2 separate regions of the Homo sapiens genome follow, and region 2 is linked to region 1. The links are contacts of gene promoters, found by promoter capture Hi-C in human tissues and cell types (Jung and others, 2019). All regions are on one chromosome and are shown on one strand. Each heading gives the region's core, a stretch centred on a gene start or on the middle of the fragment in contact. The rest is flanking DNA. Distances are from core to core; before and after follow the strand shown. Region 1 holds the start of ANTXR1 (ANTXR cell adhesion molecule 1). Region 2 overlaps ANTXR1 (ANTXR cell adhesion molecule 1).

The links. Contacts are between HindIII fragments. The study calls those that stand out against the background at their distance.
Region 2: a contact is called between a fragment that was not itself captured here and the fragment with the promoter of ANTXR1 in region 1, in 2 of the 25 tissues and cell types used here (H1 embryonic stem cells and aorta).

The regions. Positions count from the first base shown.
Region 1 is chr2:69,010,213-69,015,910 of GRCh38, reverse strand. It overlaps ANTXR1 (ANTXR cell adhesion molecule 1), which reads right to left and starts at 2,732. Exons shown (of 18, transcript NM_032208.3): 1 at 2,260-2,732. The coding sequence starts at 2,411. The HindIII fragment of the contact is 10,036 bases long and covers 341-5,698 here.
Region 2 is chr2:69,137,872-69,143,569 of GRCh38, reverse strand. All of the region lies in intron 12 of ANTXR1 (ANTXR cell adhesion molecule 1), which reads right to left. Among named protein-coding and RNA genes, the nearest start is that of MIR3126, 37 kb to the right of the region's middle. The HindIII fragment of the contact is 8,828 bases long and covers 1-5,698 here.

The DNA.
Region 1 (5,698 bases), core at 1,483-3,982:
TCTTGTGAATTATGCACTTAGGCTATTTCCTATTGGGATTTTGCTTTTACTGCTTTTTATATATGAAAATCAATCTTAAGAGAGTGATTTATGTGGCAATAGTTATTGTAACTTCTTATGTTTTTTCATGGCTTATTTTTCATTTATAGAAGTGTAAAATTTTAATATATTCAAATCTCTATTTTCCTTTATGGTTTCTTCCTTATCATGTTTTAAAAGCTCTAAACCTAAGATTACAGTAATATTCATCTAAATTATCTTCTAGTTCTTTGATCATTTCATTCTAAATATTTAGATTTTCAACCTTTCTGAAATTTATTTATGTGTATGGTTTGTAAAGTATAAATCTAACCTTTTTCATTCTCCATGTTATCAATCACTTGTCCAGGAACCATTTTTTTTTAAATTAATGAATCATTATATACTGATTGGAAATTCCACTAAATGTTTACATGTGTTTGGATCTACATGTACTTGTCTTTTTAGATTTTCTACTCTATCCACCTATTCTTTGGCCTTTACCATCCTGTTTTTATTAATTTACATTATAATACATTTTAATATTTGGAGAGAGAATATGGCTTCATTATTCTTTTCCAAAAATGTTTCAGCTCTTTTTACCTGTTTTTTTTTTTTTTGCTAAGATAAGCCTAGAATCATTTTGTTAAATTCTTATCATCAAAACAAACTCTTTCAGAACTTTGACTGAAAAGTTGAATTCAATTTCTAAATTAATTTGGGGAAAACTGGTTATCTCTACAGTATCCATATCTCTATAGTATCTCTACAGTCATCCATTCAGAGACATGGTGATTCTGTCCCCCTTTTTTTTTTTTTTTAGATTTTCCTGAATATCATTCTGAATTGGCTTTTTAAAAAAGCACGGAGGAGGAGCACCTCCGACTGTTTTCATGCACTGTCTCTAAGTCTGTGAGCTGATGCTTCCAGCCACTAGAAGTAACAAAAGAAATTCCATTCCTTAGCACTGGAGCATATTTTCAGTATCCACCTTCTCATAAATCTGCAGAAAAGAAATCTCACTTTTCATCCAAAGAATCTGGAGTTCAAAACAGCCTTTACGGAAAAATCAAACTCCAGGGGCAACTGCAAAGCACATTTGGTGTCTAGCTAGCCAGCTTATTTTGCAGGACTCTTTTTCCAACTCCTAAATACTTTCCAGTCTGTGAAATCCATCTCCCCACCACTGTAACAGCAAAGCGCCTCTCCTGGCACTGGAGAGCTCACTCAGTTTTAATGAGCACGGATCTTCTGTGAGGGGCTTTTTATCGTTGAAGCTGGTTTTCAGCAGATAGCATGAAGCTTCCTTGGGTGACTGTGGCTTGGCAAACTTATGCGGATTTGGGAAGTGCTTCATTGGTCAGAATTCAGCTCTCCCTTGAGCAAATCCTAAAGCCTAACCACTTTTTGCAAGGAAACCAGGGCTCCTGCACCTCCCTGGTAGCCCACCAGTCAAATGGCCAAGAGCTTGAATTCACTACATCTGGGGTACTCAAGTCGAAGGGGAGGGACATTTGGCAATGTCTGGAGGCATTTTTAGTTGTCACCACTAATAAGGAAGGAGTGGGGGGCGGGGGATGTTACTGGCATCCAGTGGGCAGAGGCCAAGGATGCTGCTAAACATCCTACAACGCGCAGGACAGCCCCCACCACAAAGAATTACCAGGTTTCAATCTCAGAAGTGCCAAGGTTAAGAAACCCTGCCTTTCATTCTCACTCAGTGCCCGGTGAGAAGTATGCATTACATGATTAGGAGCAAAGATAATGCCTTCCGTGGGACAGCGTTTCAAAACAAAACAAAAAAACAAAAACAAAAACAAAATGCGACGATTGGCTTTAAAATGCCCAAGCCTCTAACTTTAGGAGTGCCTGTGCCTGCAAGTTCTGCCTTTGGTAAGCAAGCCTTTCCCACCAACACGGGAGGGAGTCACAGAAACTCAGCAAGACAATAGCATCCTCCAAGCCCCTTGCCTGCTCCTGGGACACAGAAAGCAAGACAGAAAAGAAGTCTGTCCCCTTCCGAGCAAGCGGCGTCGCCTCGGCTGCGGGCTCTGGAGCCGAGGCTGGGAGGAGCGCGCCCCAACAAAGGCGCAGCACTCCGCCGCCGCCTGCCGCGCGGTCCCTCTGTGGCCCTGGAGATGCGCTCCTGTCCCCAGGCGACCCTGCCAACGAGCCCGGCCCGGGGCGAAAGCGTTTTCGCCCGCTTAGCCTGGGGTGGGGGGGACAACTCGCGGCACTTACTTGTCCAAAATGAAGTACAGGTCAAATCCGCCGTAGCAGGCTGGACCCCCATCCTCCCTGCGTCCCCCTTGCCCGGCGCAGATGAGCACCAGAGTGGCCAAAGAGAGCCACTGGAAGCCGATGCCGAGGGCTCTCCGCTCCGCCGTGGCCATGGCCCGCAGCCCGGGGAGAGCAGGGTCCGCTCCTTCCCACGCTCCGCGAACTCGCCACGACCCTCAGGGACGCGCCATCCGCGGGCCCTTCCTCGCGGGTCCTTTATTCCCCCTCGCTCCCTCGCAACTCCCCGGAAGCAATTGTCTGGAGGAGTTCAAGGTTTCCCCTCTGGTTTCCGCTCCGATGCTGTTTCTGGGTTTCGGGTTTCAAGGATCCCAATCCTGTCCTCCGCTTCTTTTAAAGGGGAGGGCTGCCTCGGTCCGGGGCCGCCGGGCAGCTCCCGAGGCCGCGCCGAGCTTTTGCAATGGAAGGAGTTCCGTCCCGACGGTTCTTTGTCCCAGATTTTAAATATGATGGGGGGGGGGGGGGGTTTCAAATTGTTCTTGGTGGGGGCAGTGCTTTGCCTTCTCTCCTTCCTCTCTGCCCCCCTTTCGCGTTCTTACGGGGAAGAAAGTTCAAAGGCTGCCACCTTGTGGACAAAGGCGGCGAAAGCACGCGTGGGACCCGCGGGAGTGCGTCGGGGGCGGGGGCGCTTCCAGGCTTCGCGTATAAATTTCCTTGTCCTTACCATTCTCATGTGAGCTGTGCGTGTTTTCTTACTCCTTCCTTCTTCCCACGCACTTTCCCTTTCTTTTTCCGTGACCGCCTCTCCATTCTCTGTAGTCCTTCTATTCCTTCTTTTCCTTCCCTATCCTGCATCTTTTGATAAGGTCACTAAACATTGGATGAGAATTTGTTTCCTCCAACCACGGTGACTCCGGCTCCCCAGGCTAGGACCTTTGCAAACAAACCATTGTGCAGATGAAGTAGGGGAAAAACGGGACCTTTGTGGTATGAGTCATCAGAGTGACCTTACATGGTCTTAGTCTGTCTGGACCATAAAAGAGACTGTTGGGGTCCGGTCTGAAACCATCACAAACAACCCCACAGAGTGTGGTACTTAGGGCTGCTCCCGGCATGGAACAGCTGAGCCTTCTAGATGGCCACCATCTCCATCTTTTAGGGATTCTATGATAATAGTTCTTCTTTTCAGCCTGTGAACTTTGACATTTTCTCTCTATCTTTGATTTAGGATGGAGGAAGTAAACAGCTTACAAGAGTAGAGACGCTCCAAGCAGTTTGGAATTGGCAGGGAAGTTCCGTGCTAGCCTCTCTAAATTGGAGAATCAGCCTCTGAGCCCCAGTTCCGAGTGGTACCCCAGTTCTAGCTTCCTATTGTCTTCCGCTCTGGGAGCCCTCAGTGCATATGCATGTACTGTTTTCCCAGGATTCTTCCTCCAGACACACATATTCCCCTCCACTTGTGTGCCTCCCAGACCCTTATACCCCAATGTGACAGTCCATGGTGGTTTCCCCCAACATGTGTACCATGGAATCTTAGTGTCTTGGAATGCTCCACTAACCAATAATCATGTTGTCAAATCAGCCTTGAAGATTTGTCATGCGTAGCACTGACCTGCCTCCAAAATGAACCCAGTGTTTCTCACCTCCTGGAATTCACACCCCTTCCACCTTGGGTGAGACTGACCTGTGAGTAATTAAGAAGATGGTGTGTGGCTTCTGAGGATAGGCCATGAGAGATGTTGTGGTTTTTCCCTTCTCTCTTGGATCACTCACTGTAGGAGAGCCCACTGCCATGTCGTGAGAACACACAAGCAGCCCCAAGGAGGGGTCCGTGTGGTAAGGAACTGAGACCCCTGCTGGCAGCCAACACCACTTTGCCAACATTGTGAGTGACCCATCTTGGACATAGGTTCCTGACATCCTGTGAAGCCTTCAGCTGACTGCAGCCCTGTCTGACATCTTGACTGCAACCTCATGAGAGATCCCAAACAAGAACTACCCAGCTAAGCCATTCCCTGATTCCTGATCCACAGAAATAAGCGAATTTTTATTAGTGTTTTAAGTCTCTAAGTTTGGGGGCAATTTTAAATATAATAAAAGATAACTAATATATGCCTAGTATCATATTAAAGCCTTGAGAATTTCTGTAGGAAAAAAATTGCTGAACTGTGTTTCCCAGACTTACTTGACCATGAAACTGTTGTTTCATAGATAAAATGTATTAAACCCATACTTTGGGAATTATTGCTCTCAGGAAAAAAATAATTGGAGGGAGATTAAAATACCCTAACCATCCAAGTCTTCCTCTTCCATGTCTTCTTTCTCCTCAAAGGATTGAAAACCCATGCTGACCCCACTGCAGCTCGATGACTTGAAAGACAGTGAGGAAATCTATAGAAATCAGATGGGTAAGGGAAAGCAGAAACACTGGTGGGAGCTGGTAAGAGAAGAAAAGGGATATGACAATGTGATGGAGAGAGTGTTTATGGGATTGGCAAGGAATAGGAAAGAGCTTGAATGTGGAAAGCGGGTGGAGGGGTGAGATGAATCAGGGAAGCATTAAGAATATCTTCTCTCACCGTCATGCCCCCAGGGCCGTCTCAAGTTGTTAAGAGTTTAGGTGACAGAGGAATGTGTTGAGAGCTTTACAGGCAAAATAGTTTAGGAAATTACCCCGGAAGGAAGCAGGGGGTGTCCTGATAGAGCTCTTCAAAGTTACAGACACCATTATCCAAGATAGATGAGGGCATAGTTCTTCCAGGGGTGGGAGGAGAGAGGATATTCTGTGGGAAACAAGGTTATGGGGAAGGGGAGAAAGATCAAGAGGCTCCTCTGGACAAAGATGGTATTTTCCAGGGCAGACAGGCAGTGAGAGGAATTCAGATATTTGAGTGTCCCAGTGCCTCTGCCTCTCTTCCAGGATTCTAGAAAGAAGTCCATCTCTAGATCTTAAAATGCCTCTACCCTGCTCTCCCTCCAGCCTGAGGAAATACATTCCAGGCTGCCTCTTCTACCTAGAGGGCTTTGTGCCAGCCTCACTCACTGTAGGGAGGTGTTCTCCAAACATTCTTGAGAAGTGAGCTTGAAGTTGAGCTGCAGAGATATGGTTATTCGCAGGGAGAGTTTAAATACGACAAAGATGTCCATAGTCTATAACAGTGGTAAATGAAGCCTCTTCTGTGATCCCAGCATGTTCGCTCAGCGGGGGATGTTGTCAGGTGTCAAAAATTGGCAACAACTTTTGCCTTTGTTTGTTAGGCTGTAGTGGCCTCATAATTAGTGCTTGTAGAGAAATGGGAGAGGTGGGTCAGTCACTGCAGGCTAGAAGGCGGCTTGGGGAGAGTCTTGGTGGGTTCCTGCTAGCATTTTCCAGAATGATTTTACAACTCAGAGACATATAAATGTCAAGATCTTCCTACACAAATGTTACCATCCTCTTGAG
Region 2 (5,698 bases), core at 1,978-4,477, 130 kb before region 1:
GATGAGTTAAGTCTTCATCTCTAGCCTAGATCTCTCCCCATTCTTCAGGGTTGTATTCAGGACCATTCAATTGTCCAGTAGGTCCTATTGATATGTCAAACTCAACCGTTCACACTGAACTCACTGTTTTCCTTTTCAAAGCTGCGTGATTTTCTCCTCTCATTTGATGGCACTACTTATCAGCCCAAGTTGAAAACTTGGAAGTCAACCTCAGGTGCCTTTTCCTCCCTCTCTTCCTTCCCCAATATGACACGTGCCATCAGTATATCCTGATCCTCTGATCTAAATACTTCTCAAATCTGCCCCTGTCTACTTCATCTCTAATACCATTGAACAGACTTAGGATCTCATTCTTTCTTTCCTGGATTATTGCAATGATCTCTTTATTGGTTTCTCCACCACCAGTATTACTGCCAGGAATTCCATCTTCTACACTGCAGTTGGAGCCACTTATGGCTCTAAACCCTAAAATGATATTCTGATAGATTTGCCTGCCCATGAACTTTTTAATAGCTCTTCATTGCCCACAGAGTTCTTAACATTTGAGAATTTTATGGAAGTGATACATCCCTTTCCTAATGAAAGTATACATTCACATTTATGCACAGGCTCACACGTTTTTTATTACCATTTCAGGGGGTCCATGAAATCCCTGGAATCTATTCGTGGACTGCTAGGTACAAGGCTTTGAGTCTTTAGCCCATACAAGCCCTCTCTTATCTCTCCAGCACCTCCCCCTCCCTCCTCACACTTTGTGCTTTGACAGAACTAAATGGCATTAGCTCCCCATACATACCTCGCTCTTCTGTCACGGTCTTCTTCTCCCTGAGACACTCTTTCTAACTATCATTGCGTGGCTAGCTGTTTTTCATCTTTCAAGTCTTTGCTCAGGTACCACCTGATTTATTCATACCTAACATATTTATTGAACACCTACCATGTGCTAGGCCCTCTCCAAGTACTGGAGAACAAGAGCATAAAATGGACACGGTTTTGCCAATCATGGCCCTTGTCATTGAGTGGGAAACAGAGACCAGTAAATACCACCACTGAACTCTGCATTTGTGCTCTTATTTTATCATAATCATAGCTCTGTCTTATCTACTTTATTTTATAGAAATTATATTATTATGTTCTTGTCTCTGCCACTGAATTAGAAGCCCCTAGAAGACACATATCTGCTTTACTCATATTTGTACCTGTGAGACATAGTACAGTGTTTCAAACACAAATTGCCACTAAATGCCCTTCAAGTGTTTAATAGAATGAGGGGAATAAGGATTTAGCAGGCTGATGCCGCCTATAGTTAGTGGGTAGCAGGAATGGCGTTGGAGCCTACGTTTCCTGTGGCTGCTCAATTCCCCTCCATGGTCTCATTCCTGTTAATGGCTGCATCAACCTCATGGCAAAGAGCTTGGGCTTTGGAGGCAGGAAAAGATGATCCAAATCCTAAACTTCTACTTACTAATATGTGGGCTTTGAGTAAGTTGCACAACCTCTTTAAGCCTTCCTTTTCTTTTTATGATGTCAAGTTATTTATACTGTTAGTAGTTAATTTAAAGACATACACTAAAACTACTCCAAGAATGGGACAAATATGTGGACTTGTAAAATTATTTTTAAGACTGACGACATGGGGGACTTCACTGGTTCTCATAACCCAGCATCTATTTGGGGGTATCAGTGGGGCCTGGAGGCAGTGAGAGAAAACAAACTTCATGGGGCAGATGCTGCTGGGACCAGGCAAAAAGCCTTCATGCCCTAAGGTCCTCACTGTCATACACCAGCCCATTGCAAAGTATCACTCATTCATGACAGATGGATGATGACATGAAAGTCAATGTACACAGTTAACCCATTTTGACACATTCATTCTTCAGCATTTTTTCAATACAGTTAATCTTAAATTATATTAAGACATAAAACAGACCTGCTTTTGCACATCCATTACTGGTATGTCTCCCAGGGTCAGGCAGAAGGAAACAGAATGACTGTCACACAATTGCTAATTGTCGAGACCCGAGACAGACTCACTCACGAGTGCTCCTGCACACCAGGTACTGCTTGTTGACTTGCGCACACTGGACTCAAAGACTTTTGAAAACTGCTCTTGCCCCTGAAACCTAAAACTCCACTGCCTGTCCTTCAGAATCATTGTAAATCTTTCCAATGATGGACAGGTGAATGTAAGACTTCTTTTTCTTTATGTATGTGAAATTGAGATAATTCCTGCTTCCCAGATTGGTTCTGTGATGACATGAGACAAGGCATGCAGAGATCCTGGCACATGGCCAGCCTTCAAAAAATGGCACTTCCCTTTCCATCCTCCCTTTCCTTCTACGTCCAAGCCAAGTTCCTGGTGATGTGCCCATGCTTGGCCAAAGTAAATGAAGTTGATTTCTTGAACAACCCTGTACAAACTCTGACTAGAGCTATGGTGTTAGTGGGTGGTCCCAGATTACACATTTGAGAAATTCAGGCCCTTAAGATTGCCATCCATGTGTCAAGAAAAGGGAAACCCAAGTGGAGTTTCCAATGGTAAATTTAATATCCTTGATCAAAGCTGATCAACCATAAATGAGGGTAACATAATGAAACACTGTGATTCATTCTGGCCACCTGAGAGGTAATTTGGGCTAGAGATGGCAATTAAATTGATAAGACACTGAAGATAGTAGATTCCTTAACCCAAAGTGGGGCAGTATAGAAAAAGTATTAGGTACCTAAACCTTTGTGGAACTCTTTCTAAAAAGCATGGCTATAAAGCAATGAGGCTGTTCATGTAGTGAACATAACTGAATTCCCACATCCAAATGAATCTAATTATCTCCAAACTAGTGGCTTTGGAGATTGGAGACTACCTCCAGTGATACAGCCATTGCCCAAAGCAATTCTGAAACACCTCCCTTGGGACTCTTTCTAAAGTCAGTTTATAGGCCCCCAAAAGAAAATCTTATAATCTCTTAGTCATGCTTTGCTTTTCATGAAAGCATTCATGAAAGTTCTGAGCTTGATAATCCATCATTCACCAGAACTGGTTCCTACAGCTTTTGGGGTTTTAGAAATCAAATGATGATGATATTCCCCTAATCCCCTACTGAGGATGTTCAAATATTGTGGCTTTAAAGTTATGACCATTTCAAAGCAAGAGTGCAGAATATATTTGGAATAGTGACAGCGTTGTTGGAGAAAGCATATGGTTTTCCAAAGCAAATCCGTTGAAGGAGCAGAAATCATATGGATGTATAAATCCTAGTTTGCTATAAATCTTATTACTTTATGCCTTATATGAATAATACCAGAAGGACTGAGATAAGCCATCATTAATATGCAGTTAAGGGGAAGATTGATGACATACTCCCACAAACTCAAGCTTTGAGGCTCTTATCACAGAAGGTGATAAGTACTCTTGTGGTACTCTTGTCACCCTGACCCAGTCATGACATTTCATGTTACTTACGATGGTGAAGGTGATTAAAGTAAATTTTGGATTCATTCAGCACTTCCCTTTCTCTCCATAAAATGCATGGAGCTTGTTAATCAAAACCAGTTTTCAGAGAATAATCCAGACAAGATGTAGCTTGTTAGTACTTGGAGTACTTTAGTTCTTGGAAGTGGGGTGTTGAAATAGGATTACAGAGAAGGTACTTAGTAGTGCTCAAATATTATGACACTGGAAGAGAAAGGCTGGTGTCTCATTTTCATTTTTTGTTTTACTAAATATAGTGATTCGTTTACTTACCGTTAATGTAGCCATTTATTTAATGTATATGCTCAATTGGTCTGATTGATCATCCCTCATGTATTAGTTGGCATCACCGTTACCTATTATTGGTAAGTAAACACCACCTACAATATACCATGGGCTGTTGCTTTAGATTACGAACTTGGAAAGGTGAATTTGGGTGGTGCCTCAAAAAGATAGATGCTCTACCCGAGCATCTATCATCTATGATCAACCATGAATCTATCATCCATGATCAACCAGAGGTAACCATGATGATCAATTCCTTAAAGCAATGTCATTAAACTGTGTAATAGGGTGTCAATAAACCAAGAACTTATTTCCCATTGAGTTTCTAATGCATGCTCAACAGTAGGAGGCATAGAAAGATAGACATCAACTTCTAACCCTGAAAGAGGTTGTCAGAGTCCAATTACAAAGTCAGGACTGATTCTCAGGGCTTGCCTGGAGAGCCGTACTGGTGAAATGCAGTTAAACTCTCAAAGGTGCTGCAATGTGCAGTGCCTGAGCTCAGAGCAGAGGGAGTTAGGAGGCTTGCAGAGGCCACTGAGTCATCCTGGGGCAGGTCCAGAAAGCACTGGGCTAGGCCTTAAGGCCACAGTGAAATTGGATAGGTGAAAGAAGAGAGGGCATTCCAGAAGGAAAATGAAATGTGATCAAAGGCACAGAGTAGAAATGGACATAATTTTATTTAGAGTGAGGATGTATGAAATACAAAATTGCCATTCAACATTTTTATCTGTTAGGGATCAGTACATTCACAAATTTTAAGGCCAGTAGGTAGGAGCTAACTGGGGCTGCCAGGTCAAGCTCCATCATAAGGAGCATTTTGTAGATATTTACTTTGGCTGAGTTTGCACCTTTTATATACAATCTCAAGAATCTTGAGCTTTATAGATACCTATAAAGTATTCTAAGTCCATAAATTTGGGCAATGCAGGTAAAATAAAATTGCTCTTTCATATTTCCTCAGCCTGCAAATGAAACAGTTTTCCTGATGCTGGGTTGTGTTGAAAAGAAACTCAGTAATATTTCAGTTGTCACTTATTCAAGTGCTTTTTATTTTTTTAAAAAATGAAACAAAACATGAAGCCCACTGCTTTGGGCACTGACTAAACTAACGTCTGTTCCAGTAGCCACAGTAATGGCAAAGGAATGTTAGTTATGTATCGTTTGTGGCTGACTCTTCTTTCGAGGAGAAATAAATTAACTCCCTGCCTTTCGCATTTCCTTGGTGCCTTAATGTATAGGTGAGAAGATGGCTGCTTTGCAAAAGGGAAGGTGTTTATATACCCTCATGGGACCTTGTCATTCTGTAGGGAACAGAGGGAGGAGTTTGACTGCCTTCTGGGAATGCAAACAATATAAATCCTGTCAGTCCCAAATACTATCCTGATTAGAAAATACACGTAATGACTCTGGGGTGACTTGTAATTTAGTGCAGTATGACTGTAAGCTGCCAACTAGGACAATATGATCCTGGTGGGTCATCTCCCATTCTCAGATAACTTAGCTCACTGATTTTGCCAATGTTGGACTATTTAAAGAGTTGACAATTATTTTAGCATTGGTAGAAAGGAGATCCTCTCAGATTTTCTCTGCTTTTTGGTCCTTTTCCCCAAACTATTAAATCTCTCCTCTTCCTCCTCCTCCCATTTCTCTTTCCCACTGACAACTCCTTCCCCCCTCTACCAATTTTTTTTTCTTTTTTCTTTCTTTTTTTTTTTTTCTTTTTTTTTTGAGATGGAGTCTTGCTGTTGTCGCCTCGGCTGGAGTGCAATGGTGCAATCTTGGCTCATTGCAATCTCCGCCTCCCGGGTTCTAGCAATTCTCCTGCCTCAGCCTCTTGAGTAGCTGAGATTACAGGTGTCCGCTACCACACCTGGCTAATTTTTGTATTTTTAGTAGATTTGGGGTTTCACCATGTTTGCCAGGCTGATCTCGAACTCCTGA